Regions from separate parts of the Homo sapiens genome. Here all the other regions are linked to region 3. The links are contacts of gene promoters, found by promoter capture Hi-C in blood cells and fetal thymus (Javierre and others, 2016). All regions are on one chromosome and are shown on one strand. Each heading gives the region's core, a stretch centred on a gene start or on the middle of the fragment in contact. The rest is flanking DNA. Distances are from core to core; before and after follow the strand shown.

What was found. Contacts are between HindIII fragments. The CHiCAGO score rates a contact against its expected background, and 5 or more counts as called.
Region 1: a fragment that was not itself captured here is called in contact with the fragment with the promoter of SH2D6 in region 3 in 1 of 17 cell types (monocytes); the score reaches 6.1 in monocytes.
Region 2: a contact is called between a fragment that was not itself captured here and the fragment with the promoter of SH2D6 in region 3, in 1 of 17 cell types (monocytes). The highest score is 5.1, in monocytes.
Region 4: a fragment that was not itself captured here is called in contact with the fragment with the promoter of SH2D6 in region 3 in 1 of 17 cell types (M0 macrophages); the score reaches 5.3 in M0 macrophages.
Region 5: a fragment that was not itself captured here is called in contact with the fragment with the promoter of SH2D6 in region 3 in 3 of 17 cell types (fetal thymus, activated CD4 T cells and monocytes); the score reaches 6.6 in fetal thymus.

Annotation. Positions count from the first base shown.
Region 1 is chr2:86,080,078-86,082,777 of GRCh38, reverse strand. POLR1A (RNA polymerase I subunit A) reads left to right here. Exons shown (of 34, transcript NM_015425.6): 8 at 1,072-1,177; 9 at 1,800-1,962. Among named protein-coding and RNA genes, the nearest start is that of POLR1A, 24 kb to the left of the region's middle. The HindIII fragment of the contact is 2,227 bases long and covers 337-2,563 here.
Region 2 is chr2:86,131,901-86,134,600 of GRCh38, reverse strand. PTCD3 (pentatricopeptide repeat domain 3) reads right to left here. Exons shown (of 24, transcript NM_017952.6): 17 at 2,177-2,283; 18 at 1,345-1,423; 19 at 1,165-1,255; 20 at 224-309. Among named protein-coding and RNA genes, the nearest start is that of SNORD94, 2.6 kb to the left of the region's middle. The HindIII fragment of the contact is 3,229 bases long and covers 1-2,700 here.
Region 3 is chr2:85,417,408-85,420,107 of GRCh38, reverse strand. SH2D6 (SH2 domain containing 6) reads right to left here and starts at 1,394. Exons shown (of 24, transcript NM_001394463.1): 1 at 1,178-1,394; 2 at 864-1,079. It also overlaps a transcript of CAPG not described here. RefSeq lists enhancers at 1,774-1,933, 1,412-1,947, 1,944-2,053. The HindIII fragment of the contact is 6,915 bases long and covers 1-2,700 here.
Region 4 is chr2:86,035,770-86,038,469 of GRCh38, reverse strand. The region is part of intron 27 of POLR1A (RNA polymerase I subunit A); the gene reads left to right. Among named protein-coding and RNA genes, the nearest start is that of POLR1A, 69 kb to the left of the region's middle. RefSeq lists a silencer at 1,772-1,821 and an enhancer at 2,492-2,551. The HindIII fragment of the contact is 1,272 bases long and covers 647-1,918 here.
Region 5 is chr2:86,192,781-86,195,480 of GRCh38, reverse strand. It overlaps IMMT (inner membrane mitochondrial protein), which reads left to right and starts at 19. Exons shown (of 15, transcript NM_006839.3): 1 at 19-143. The coding sequence starts at 99. MIR4779 (microRNA 4779) reads left to right here and starts at 2,373; the gene lies at 2,373-2,455. RefSeq lists enhancers at 29-148, 169-348, 469-518. The HindIII fragment of the contact is 679 bases long and covers 1,022-1,700 here.

The DNA.
Region 1 (2,700 bases), core at 201-2,700, 660 kb before region 3:
AAATGCCCGTAAGTAAAATGCTTTGTCCTTCTGTGAATCAAAGAATGAACTCTGTCTTATTTAAATTGGGACTTTACTATAAGGGAAATCCTTCTTTCCTTTTGAGTGTATAACAAAACCTACGCAGTATATTCAAGCCCTTGTGAGAGTATGTTGTGGAACGCTGACTATAACCTCTGTGTAATAAGCGCTTACAAATGAACATGTTGTTAAAGAGGTATCAGAAAAAAAAAAAAGCACTGGAGTTAGTATGATTGCTTCTGTGGCAGGCCCTAGTACATTTTAATCTTTTTCTCTAGGCATTTTTTAAAGTAACCAGAAACCTGAAATAAAGCTTTGATCCACAGAAGATCCTTTCTTGGCAGTAACTGTTAGGGGTGGGAGGAGGCTAACTTAAAAAAAAATTTTTTTATTCAACATATTTTTTATGAAGATCAAAGTAATGATGTGTGTGCTGTCTGTGTTTTAATAGTCCAGGAGGGTGATTAAAAACAAGTGAAGTTTCTTCCCCATCCTTGCCCATCTCAGTCCCTGGTTTAAGAGCTATTGTCCCTGTAGTACCCATTTTTATGCTATCATATCCCCTGCATACAAACTGTCATGTACACAGGGGCTATTTTTTGTTTTTATAAAGAAAAATGAGGCCAGGCACGTTGGCTCATGCCTCCAATCACAGCAATATGGGAGGCTGAGGCAGGTGGATCAATTGAGCCCAGGAGTTCGAGACCAGCCTGGGCAACCAAGCAAAACCTCATCTCTTAAAAAAAAAAATACAAAAATTAGCTGGACATGATAGCACGCACCTGTAGTCCCAACTACTTGGAAGGCTGAGGTGGCAGGATTGCCTAAGCCTGGGAGATCAAGGCTGCAGTGAGTCATGATCGCACCACTGCACAGCAGCCTGGGCGACAGGAGTGAGACCTTTTCTCAAAAAAGAAAACTGTGACCTTAACTCTACATATTATCTTGTATTCTGTTTTTTCCTCACTCAGTAATATTTTTATGGTTGTCCTCCCATGCCCTTAGTGATAGATTTAAATGGTCTTCTTGGTTTATTTCTTTCCAACGCAGGATTCTTTCTGAACTACCTTTTTTCGGGAATGGATGATGATGGTATGGAATCCAGATTCAATCCCAGTGTGTTCTTTCTAGATTTCTTGGTGGTGCCGCCCTCAAGGTAATACCCTTTAATTAACTTATTTCACCTGAAAAAAAGCGTACTAAGGAACTGAAATGTGACCTCTAGGAGAGGTGAAAGGGCCAAGGGCACTGAGAGACAAAGCTGCAGTTCCGCTCCAGGTGCAGGTGGTGGGAGGGCTTGCTTTCCTTCCCGTTTGTTGTGAACGCAATAGGAATGTTGGTTGTTTTTGTTTGTTTGTTTTGAAGTGGAGTCTTGCACTGTCTCCCAGGCTGGAGTGCAGTGGCATGACCTTGACTTACTGCAACCTCTGCCTCCTGGGTTCAAGTGATTCTCCTACCTCAGCCTCCTGAGTAGCTGGGATTACAGGCACGCACCACCACACCCAAATAATTTTTGTATTTTACATAGAGATGGGGTTTCACCATGTTGGCCAGGCTGGTCTCGAACTCCTGACCTCCAGTGATCCACCTGCCATGGCTTCCCAAAGTACTGGGATTACAGGCTTAAGCCACCACACCCAGCCGGAATGTTGGTTAGGAAGGTTGGTTGTTTTGAGCATGGTGGGGTGTGCTCCCTACAGTAGGCATGGGTGAGAGGCTGAAGAACATGACCCTTTCCTCACACTAAACATTCATTTATTCCGTATGTCCCCCTGCAGGTATCGCCCAGTCAGTCGCCTAGGAGACCAGATGTTTACTAATGGCCAGACGGTGAACTTGCAGGCTGTCATGAAGGATGTAGTTCTGATTCGAAAACTTCTGGCATTGATGGCCCAAGAACAGAAGTTGCCAGAGGAAGTGGCCACACCCACTACAGATGAGGTCAGGGCTGCTCTGTTGCTGATGTGATGAGCACACATGCTTAGTGCTAACTCTGTGAGCTGTGGATGTAGACACTGGGTCTGGGAGATGCTTCCTGGGATGTTCTGTGCAGCTGGCAGCAGCCTTAGTGTGAGCTCTGGGCTTAGGGGGCACCTAGGAACATTAGGGGGACACACATGGGTCTGAGCATGGAAAGGTGTGGGTTCTGGTCTAGCTTCTACACCGAACGACCATGCCAGGTGACCCTAGTTGAGTCACTTCCTTATACTAGTGTCTGCTATAAAGTGCATGTGATTTGTGGTGAGATTTCACACCTAGGCTGTTCCGGGCTACCAGCTCTCGCAGCTCTAGAAAGAATAGCCTACTTCCCTCAGGCTTTAAGAGTGTCCCTTTTGGGTCACAGTACTAGAGCTCATGTTGCCAGCTCTATTTTGGACACGTTAATGTCTCCAGCATTGGGGTCAGGAAGGCAGTATTGCAGAGTGGAAATTCCTCTCAGAATAGGACAGTTTCAACTAACATTTCCTGAGCCCCATCTGTGTGCCGGGTTAATTAGTAGGTGTTCAGTGGGTACAAAGGTGAATTGGGCACCCAGGAAGCTTGCTGAGGTCATCAAGATCCTTCCCAGCTCTAAAGTACTCTCTGGATGCAAATAGGCAGCCTTGGGTAGACAGTCCGGGTTCTCAGACTCCAGCCGCTGCGACAGTCCCGCTGTCTGCCAGGCCCATCACAAGGTGG
Region 2 (2,700 bases), core at 138-2,637, 710 kb before region 3:
CTGAAGACAGAAGCTAATTTCATGTTGCTTGCTTTGGACTACAGGAAAGAGGGTAACTTTAAGAACAGATTTCTGCTAAGGGCAAGATATGTTTAGATGTATCATCACTCAAATATGGGTTTGGGTAGCAGAACTCTCCAAAATGGCAGATAAAACCAGGGAAGCTAGCCTTAAGAAGACCTCAGTATGGGAGGATATACTGGCTGGTGAGTTTCAGGCCTACCTCTGGTGGGTGCTTGTCCCTTGCCATGAGCATCAGGATCTCTTCTCTCAGGTCACTGCGGAAAGTATGACCATATTCTTTACTATCTTGAAACAAGAAAGGAACAAGGAGTGATCATTGTTATGTAAAACCAACACACTTTTGTTCACTGTCAACCTATTTTTTGGTAGGTAAAAATAAGTTGCTGTTATTTATTCTAGGCTTATCCCAGGATTCCAGAAACCCACCAGGATTCACAGTGGAACAAATGTAAAAGCCAATGCCTGGGCCTTGCTCCAGTGACGTGTTCATCACGGCATGTGCACTACATGGGAGCAGCCACCAGCTCCACGTGGTTAAGACGTTGTTTTATAGCACTTGGGAATTTGATATACTTTTATCACTCATTAGAGCAGTCGTGTGAAGCAGGAGGGCGGGACTAGAGCCTACTGACTTTATGATACAGTAGTCACCTAGTGAAAGATACAGAATATCTATTTCATTTTGCAGCCAAGTTATACACATAAGACACACACACCCGTGATGCGTGATGCTCATGGCTATTACTTGGAAACAGAATCATCACTGACTGTGGTTAGTGAAGTGAGGCAACACTGGCACAGAGGAATTACACAGGCTTCCGGGTCAAAGACCTTTATTCAGATTTAGGGTCTGCCACGCCATTAGCATTTATTTTCTTTGGGTCATATCCCGCAACAGGTGCACAAAACTCAGCTCATTCCTATGTCACGAAGGGACTGACTTAAGTCATTTTCAACAAAATTTTCTCCTGATAGCCAACATGCAACATGAGCACATGACCTTGAAGTACATCTCAACTAACACATTTGGTTCAGTCAAAATGGAAGTTTTCATCCCTAACAGTAATGTTAGCACATTCATTATCAAAGTAGAGGATATTGAGGTGAGATGCACCTGGACACATAAAAAGTAAAACTGACCTTTCCAAATTTTAGGAATCACTTCTAGCCGATTGGCCACATCCAATGCTTGGAGAAGATGTATCATTGTTTGGGAGTGGGGAAAGTAGGCCTGATTAAGAGAAACACATTTTTAAAGCATTAATCTGCAGAAACCCAATTCATCTAGAATGATAAATAACAAGTAATGAACCATCTTACTGAAGGTATCAGGTCCTCATACCACTTCAAGGTAACATCAATTTGTTCCATTAGACAAATCAAATCGAAGAACTTGGAACTGTGATGAAGGCAAAAAGTATGTTTAGTCTAAAGTCCCTATGTCTAACAACAGGGGAAATAAGGGTTGAAATTATAGCATATTATATGTTACAAAGAATTTCAAAATACTTACAGTTTCAAGTTAAACGAGCCAATATTTGGTTTAAGAGCTGCCAGTGTGTGCTGACTTCTCAATTAAACACCCTACCCTCAACTGGTCATTTCTAACTGTTTCCTCTGTATACTCTTAGGTCATGGTGAATAGATACTGAATTTCAAATTCATTTTAAAAACATTCAATGTGAAACAAGGATTTGGATACACAGAAAACAATTCTCACACATCTGTTAACATGCTGCCTTCTTAAATTCATGTTCTTATCTGCCTAAAAGCAAACCCATTTAGGGAGTATCTCTAGGTTCCAGTATCTTCATCTTTGAATACAAAAGCAAGGGAGGTGAAAGGAAATCTTCAGGGCTCACCCTGCTATAACAATTTGAAAATGTAAAATGAGAGGGGGTAGAGGAAAAAGATATGTGGATTTTACAGTGTTGCAAAAAAAAAAAAAAAAAAACCCTTAAAGGACACAAACTAGTCTTTCAAATCTGGCAGTTTTACCACTGCTTTAATTCCTAAGTGCTCAATTAACATGTCCTATTAGATCATTGGCATGTTGCCTGAAACCAGAGGTGAGGTATGAAGGGACATCAACAGCCTCCCACTTGCAGAATCTGGTAACTCATGCAAAAGGATATGTTTCCAACACACTTACTAATAGAAATTACGATGTTGATCAGGTCCAATGAATTTCCAGTTGTCTCCGGTTTTTAAAAGGCCATGTACTTGGTAGGCAAGTTCTAGATCTCTGAGAGATGAGCACTGAAAATATGCAAGTAGTAAGTATCACTCTGATACCCTGTCAGCCAGTGGTTCACAAATAAATAACAACAGTAGAGTGTCTTGTGAAAATAATGTTGATTCAACATATTATTGGTTGACAGCAAGTAAGTTATAAGAAATGGGGGGGAGACAAATCCCAAGTTCTGTGAAATTTATTACAATATTATTTTAATTAAGCAATTATACCATTAAAAATTAATCCTGTAACAACACCTGGTCAAGTGCACAAAAGACACCTGCACTGCAGAGTCTGGACTAGTAAAAATCTCCATGAAATAACTCCAAAATCTACCCACAGGAAAGTTAAGTTATGGTTCTTACTATGAAATACTGGTTGCTGCCAACAAATAAAACACCCTGAAAGTATGCCTGGATATACATACGCTTGAGTACCCA
Region 3 (2,700 bases), core at 145-2,644:
AAACAAACAAACAAAACAGAACGGGCTCTTATTAAAGAGTCCAGGGACTGAGTCAATAGCTGTCTCCAAGTTTCTATGGTACCTATCTCTCCTCTCTAGGGGCAAAAGGGCTACTCAACAAAAGGCTGATTGTTTTAACAGAAACACTCAGAAAACCAAACCTTTGAGAACTTCCCAGGCAGAAATAGGCATGCTTAGAGACCACGCGACCAGTTAATATGAACCCCACATCTGCTATCAAGAGAATCTGGGCAATCTACTTTGAATATCCCTTTTGGAGCTGTTTCTAGGTGTTTAGAGATCAAATGAAATATTTCTAGGAAGTAGCTCGCCTCGAACTAACCACACAAGAATGAAATCTCACTGACTTACAAGGTCATGGCTAAACCTTCATTGACTAGGTATTTTCCTCCTTCCTTGATGATCCAGTATGTAGCAGTATATGCCCAGATCAGGAAGTGTAAAAGCTGAAAATGGAGTTGGAGACAGAAAGTCCAATGTGTTGCTGGCCACTGTGGTGTCACTGCTCCCGATACAGGTGTAACCTGAGTCTCCCGCTTGGGAGCCAGAAATCAGCTGAGAAGAGGCCTCTGGAAAGAGGCTGCCCTGGCCCAGAAGGGTGGATGAAGTAGGGCCTCAGCACAGCTCATCCTACCGAGCAGGCCGGACCCTGAGTTCCTGGCTTGCACTGAAGGGTCTGGGTAAGTCCCTTCTGTAGCGCCTCAGAAGCTCCTTGGGCAACCTGGGAAGTTAGGACAAGAGCTCTGACATTTGACCCTGAGGTGTGAGGAGAGTGCTTTGAGAGAGAGGATGCTGAATGCGAGCGCCCTGGTTATTACCTCCTGGCAGCCTCCTAACCTCACCTTGACTCTGCCATGTAAAATTGATGCCTGGGCGCAGGGCGCCGACGATGGTCAGATACCGCGGCCTGCACACCCTGGGACCTACATCCCTGACCTGGAGGACCCAGGCCTTCCCCGGGCTTCACCACGAGTCCTGCCGGCCACACAGGGACCCTAACAGACCTAGTCCAGTCTCAGGGTCTGGGCTGCTCCTCCTTCCAGGAATGGGAGTTTGCTCTAGGCGATGGAGGAAGGGTTCAGGAGGCCACTCTGCCTGCTTAGCAGGCTGTGGGCCCAACCCCCCACCCACCATCTTCATCTCCCACGGCCCCAACCTCGTAGGGAGGGCAGGGCGGGGCTCAGGTTCGCAGAGAAGGAGGGCTCGGACCAGCGACTCCAGGGCAGAGGGGCGCGTGCAGGGGTGGGGAGCTGGGTTTGCGAGGAGAGAAGGCCATCTCTTCCCCAGCAGGGTAGCCCCCACCTAGCTACCGGGATCCCACCCTGGCTGGCGCAATCTTTGCGTCCGGATCAGCACCCAAGGCCCCGCCCAACGGCCCGCTGCCTGCCGGGATTTGTAGTTTGTAGGGGAGGGGCCAAAAGGCGCGCGCGCGCGCGTGTGTGTGTGTGCGTGTGTGACTGTGTGTTTGTGAGACTGTGTGTGTAAGTGTGTCCGGGGGTCTGTTGTGGTGCTCCCGTCCCCGAGGGCCCTCCGGACCTGGGCTCAGCAAAGGCACCACAGGCCGCAGCTTCCGAGACCCCGCCCCGCGGCCCACTGCCTGCTGGGATTTGTAGTTCTTAGGGGTCTAGGGCCCAGGCTGGGGCCGGGTTGGGGCCTTACACGCGTCCTGGCGTGTGGCTCTCCTGCGTCCTCGTTTTTCTCGTGAGCCCTGGATCTGGACAGTGGGCCCGGCGCGAGGCCCTCAACTCCGGCTGGGCTCCCGGTGGCACTTTCTGCCGACCCTGAGATGTACCCGCCACGCCTGCGGGACTGACCTCTAGGTGGGCAAACCGAGGCACAAAGAGGGGCGCGCTCTGGCCGGAGTCGGCCCTCTTGTGAGAATTTGGGCTGGGAGACCCAGCCCAGGCCTGGCAGGCAAGGCTGGGTCAGGCGAGGGTCCTGGGCCCTTTCGGTGTAAGAGTGTGCAAAATAATGAACAGGCCTGCCCAGGACTGGCTCTGCACATTAGCGCTAGTTACCTTACAGGCTTGACTGATCAGATTTTTATTTGGCACCACTACAGAGGGGAGCCCAGGGAGGGAGGAAGTCTCTCGTGACCAAGAAAACCTATGGTCCACCCTGGCCTACAACTCTGCTTTAACGACAAAAATAAACCGAGTTTGGGAGGGGGTGAGGAGGAGGGGTGTTTTGTAAACTGTGAAGTCCAGGTTATGAGTGAGGTGTTATTATCATCAGGATCAGACCTCAAAGCACTGGAGGAAAGGTCTGGGCCTTCAAGAGCCTCACCTCAAAAGGGAGGGTATGGCCGGGCGCAGTGGCTCACGCCTGTAATCCTAGCATTTTGGGAGGCTGAGGCAAGCAGATCACCTGAGGTCAGGGGTTCAAGACCAGCCTGGCCAACATGTCGAAACCCCATCTCTACTAAAAATAGAAAAAATTACCCGGGCGTGGTGGCACGTGCCTGTAATCCCAGCTACTCGGGAGGCTGAGGCAGGAGAATTGCTTGAACTCAGGAGGCGGAGTTTGCAGTGAGCCGAGATGGTGCCACTGCACTCCAGCCTGGGCAACAGAGCCAGACTCTGTCTCAAAAAAAAAAAAAAAAAAAAAAAGAGCTGAGATAGCTGTTTGCATGTGAAAGGACTCACAACTGGCACTAGCATGCGGTGATAGTGGGGAGGG
Region 4 (2,700 bases), core at 33-2,532, 620 kb before region 3:
TTCTTCTCTTGGGTTGACGTCAGGATTGTTGTCTTCTGGGGCTTGCAGGCATTAAGACATGGAAATGTGGGTGTGGTAAAGAGAAGGGAGCACCATCAAAGCGGTGCTTCTGTGGTGTCGGAGCAGCACATGCTGTTAATGTTTGCTAGGGTGTTACTGCAGGCAGTATAATGTGGTTCCTGATGCATTTAGATTCTGTGAATAATGAACAATGTGCGGGTGGCACGCTGCTGTTAGATCTCCATTCTATAACCAGGATTGCCTCCAGAGAAATTCGAGTTCCTGTCCCGAGTTCCTGTCCAGTAGGGAAAAGGAACTTTTGTCTCAAGTTCAAGTTACTGTTAGATATTTGAAAAGCAGAGGCCACAATGCTGAGTTCCGGGGAGCAGGAGGATGGGCTTTTTGGGGACTGGGGCAAGACTGGAAGAGCCCACGAAGCATTTTTGACTCACCAGCTAACCCTAGACGGTGAAGTGTGAACACAAAAAGGCTGCATAGCCCAGCAGGTGACAGGCCAGTGAAGCAGGCTTGGAGGCCCCCGGCAGACTGAAGAGTGTGGAACCTGTCTCAAGGGGCACCTGTTACTATGCAGGAATGGAGGCCCGGGGGGCCACATCTTTTGATTTAAAAAGAAAGAAAACAAGCTTCCCACCCCCTACGTTTTTTTCTTTCTTGGGTCACTTGTTTACTTGCCTTTGCTTTTATATAATTGAGGTCTCCTGACTTTTAAACATCAGCAACTAATTCATGTGTTTTTAAAAGCCCAGTAAGGCCCAGATGGTTCTCATCTGTTGCAGGATCTGGCCACAGGCCACTGACCACTGCCTCTAATCTAGACCAGTTCTTGGTCTTCTGGGAGCTGCTCAGATAGAGAAGCAATGACAGAGCAGAAGCAGAAAGCTCCCTGCACTCAGCCATCCCACAAACACATACTGAGCCATGCCCATTCGTCGCTGAGTCACGGGGGCAGGCGTGGGCAACACAGTACGACTTTTCTGCCCTCAGCCCTCTGCCCTCTCACCTTATGGGGCCTGGCCTCGAGCCAGCCCTCTGTGCAGGTGGCATTTGGGATGGTGGGTCTTGGGGTGGAGGAGCTTGGATGTGAACTCAGTCCTTTGGACGGGGGTCACTGGCCAGGTGCTTCCTGCCCCAGTTCACGAGCCCTGGGTGAAGTTGTTGTTGGCTGGGCCTCAGGAGCACCTGCGTTGGTGCCAGCCTGGGCTGAGAACATTCCTTCTGTCGAGTGGTCCTCTGTGCTATCTGGGCACTGGGCAGAGTGGCAGGGGAGTGCTGTGTGCACCCGCCTGCCAGCTCCTTAATTAACAGCGAGGAACATAACTACCAAGTGCAGGGGGCGTTTGTGCTGGCCTGGCAGTGGTTTTCTGGGAAATGGGAATTCAGATTTCATGGCCTCTAGAGAATAACTAAGGGTGGACGGAGTTAGATGTTTTGCCCCAGTTCTGTTCACAGGAGGCCCAGGCCAGCCCAGCAGGTAGGTCGGCATGAGGCTGGCGCCAGCCCATGCTGGGGTTCTTTTTACTTATATTACCTCATGGAATTGAAAATAGGAAATCACTTTTTAAGACTTCTTCCTGATGAGGGACAGCCCTGGCTTGTTCCCAGCCGTGAAGTACTTTTTCAACTCCTCCCTGTGTTTTGCTTGTGAACTTGAAAATCTGTGATAAATAAAGCCATGCGCAGTAGCTTTTGGTGGAGGTGGCCTCAAGGACTCAGCAGAATGGGGCTGAGGGGTTAGGCAGAGCTAAAAGATGGGGCAGTGGATGAGCTGGGTGCGGTCTGGACTCCCTTTGTCAGGCCCCAGGCAGCAGAGCAGCTGTGTTCAGGCCTCTGGCCGCCCACAGGAAATGGGAGGAAGTGTGAGTGCACTTTCAAAAGAGCAGCCAACCCCCAAGAAGCTTTTTCTCCTTCCTTTCTCCCATCCCTCCCCCTTCCTTCCTCTCTGCCACCCTCTTTTTCTTTCTCTTTGCCCCCACCCTCCCTTCTCCCAGCTGTGGAGTCATGAGACCCTTGACAGAGCCTGGAGAAAAACAGCACGAGACAGATGGTTCCCTAGGTAGAGATATACAAGCGTAGAAGGCCCCCCAGATCTCTGCACTGGCACCCATCACATGGGCTGTTTGTGTAAATTGTCTGGCAGGTGGCAGGGGAGATGAAGTGGAAAGAGCACTGAGCTAGGAGTTAGGGGCTGTAAGTTTTGGCCTCCGGTCCCCAGCCATGAAAAGACCCAGCTGACAGTCTGTAATTGTAGCTTCTGTGAATCTGACTTTCCAAACAGCAGGTGGTGGAGCTGTTGCCAGGCGCGTTCAGAAACCGCCAGGGGTCATGTGCTCTGTTTGTAATTATTTACGTGGGACGGGAGGCTTCTCTGCCCCTGCCCCTCCTGTTCCCTTTCTGTTGCTACATTCAGGTGAGCTGCACAACCTTGAGAAGGCAGTCACTGTGGGCCGTTAGTTCCCCTGCTCTTGGCAAAACCATAGAAGGGCAAATTGCACCTCCAGGAAAACTGGCACACTGGTCACATGCCTACCACTTACTCACCAGCCATTCATTCTGCCTTCTCACCTCCTTCCCTCCTACGTTCTCCACAAGTCCTGGTCACCAAAAGAGGCAGGGAAGGCAGAAGGCATCCCCAACTGGGGGAATCAGGGAGGGCTTCTTGGAGGAGTTACAGCTGCTGAG
Region 5 (2,700 bases), core at 112-2,611, 780 kb before region 3:
GCGCGGACGCGGGCACGCACACACGCAAGCACGCCTCCACTTAACTCGCGCCGCCGCGGCAGCTCGAGTCCACCAGCAGCGCCGTCCGCTTGACCGAGATGCTGCGGGCCTGTCAGTTATCGGGTGTGACCGCCGCCGCCCAGGTGAGCACTGGGGCTCCCGGAGGCGCGTGAGGAGGCTGAACTAGAACCGTCAGCGAAAAACGGGGGAGCCTTGGTCGCTGCCTAGCCTCCAGGACAAAGGCGAGCCTCAGGGCCACCCTCGTCGGGAGAGGCCCGGGCGGGCAGCTAGGCAGCCACCAGGGAGTTCGCCGGACTGGGATGACTTGAGGTTATTGCAGCAGCGGGGTGGGGTGTGGAGAGTAGCGGGAGGCGCGGCTTCGTGGGCATGTAGTCCAATCAGGGCCGCGCTGCCCCCGTCCAGGACCAATCCTGGCTGCTGGCGTCTGGGTCGCCGGTTGGGCGCGCGATAGGTTTTCAGTGCTGAAGGTCGACGGGCGAGAACTACAGTTCCCGTCAGGACGAGCGGAGCGGCGGCTTGTTGCATCCTTAATAAGGAGGTGCCTGGACTTCTAGCGAGAGTCCACATTTTAGGGGTCAAGGTTGTAATTATCTGGGAGGGAGTGCCTTTCTTTTCGCAGCTGAGAACACTTCTGAGTTATTCTTAATCCAAACAAAAGCGAAAGATTTTCATTTGTGGAGCTGAAACTCCTGGTCTTCAAGGAAAGACAGGAGTCATGACCTTGTGGCTCATTTCTGAGATTAGGGCAGGGATCTGTGTCTCCAGGCGCTGGGACTACTTTGACATTCAAGGAGCCTAAATACCCAGTTACTTCTAGTTTTGCGTAATTGCCAAAGTTACTTTCTAAAATTGAAAATTAAAAAGCCTGTTTCCACTGCTCATGATTTTCAGGAAGTTGATATTTTGGCAAAATGTAGATAGCAAACCAAGTACTGTGACTCAAGCAGTAATTGAACAGAATCCCTAGGAATAGTGAGTTAGAGATCATAAAAGTCAAGCTTTGTTTTTTCAAGTTCGCTTCTCTTCCTATTTGCTGCTAGGTAACAGAAGCAGCCCCTTCCATAGGAAAGTGGAACGAACCTGTGTTAGTTTTCTATTGCTGCGTAACAAATACCACAAATTTAGCAGCTTAAAACAACACCCATGAATGACCTTACGGGTTCTGTAGGATAGAAGTCTGGGCACGGATGATCTGTGTTCTCCGCTCCAGGTCACATAAGGCTGCAAAGTATTAGCCATGCTGTGGTTCTCATTTGGAGATCAGGGTCCTCTTCCAGGCTCATGCAGTTTGTTGGCAGAATTCAGTCCCTTGCAGTTACAGGACTGAAGTACTTCTTTTCTTGCTGCCTCTTGCCAGCCACTGCTCCCAGCTTCTACAGCCTGCCTACAGTTCCTTGCCTCAAGGCCTCTAGAGGCCATTCATAACATTGATGTTTGCTTTCGTGCAGGCTACCAGGAGCTTGCCTCTCTGACTTCCAAATTTCTTTTACTTTGGTCTTTCCTCTCTAGACCCAGATTTAAAAGGCTTATGTGATTAGACCAGGCCCACCTGGATGACCTCCTTTTCAGTTAATTCAGAGTCAACTTTTTGGGATCCCATTTGGGAATTAAGAAAACTAATTAAAACTTGGTAATAAAAAATGAACCCTTTTATAGCTCTGAATCAAGATGTCTAAGCTTCTTGAAATTGCTGTCTTGTAAAATTCTTTGGTTTATTCTCACCATCTCCTTAATTCTGTAGCATTTGACATTGCTGCTTTATGAGGCTCTTTGTACTTTTGGCTTCTCTCAAGTAATATTTTGGGTCCCATCTCTCTTGTTTTCCTTTACTGAGTCTGCTTCTGCTTTGTACCTCGAAATATACACCTTCTCATCTCTTCCTGTCTCTTTATAGACTCTCTAATTTGAGATTACATCAACTCTCAGAACTTTAATCCCCAAGCAGGTGACTCTCTAGCCTCGTCGTATTTGATTGTATCAACGTATCCAGAATATCTCACTTGTCAAGATCCTTTCCACTTTATTAAACCCCATCTTTCTTTTTTTTTTTTTGGATACGGAGTCTCACTTTGTCACCCAGGCTGGAGTGCAGTGGCACAGTCATGGCTCACTGCAGCCTTGACCTCCTGAGCGCAAGCAATCCTCTTACCTCAGCCTCCTGAGTAGCTGGGACCACAGGCATGTGCCACCATCCCTGGCTAATTTTTTAAAAAATTTTTGTAGAGACGGAGTCTCTCTGTGTTGGCCAGGCTGGTCTCGAACTCCTGGGCTCAAATGATCCTCCCACTTCTGCCTCCCAAAATGCTGGGAATATAGGCACGAGCCACCGTGCCCAGCCAACCCCATCTTCTTAAATGTCTTACTGCTTTTACTGTTCCCTCCTAGAGTCCATTCTTTACTCTAGGAGGGAATAGTAAAAGCAGTAAGACATTTAGTAAAAGGCTTTTTAAAAGGCAAACATGAGGTCATGCTCTTTGGAGACATCGCATCACATTCAAAATAAAATCTAAACTGCTTACCATGGGCCCTTGATCTGACTCTTCTCATATTTCATTTTTCTACTGCCTCACTCAGATTCTCCTGGTAATCTCCAGCATGTGCCTCACTGCCTTTTCATCAGGTGTTTCTTTTGCCCTGAACTCTTCTCACAGGTTTGCTTAACTTATTCCCTTCAGTTAA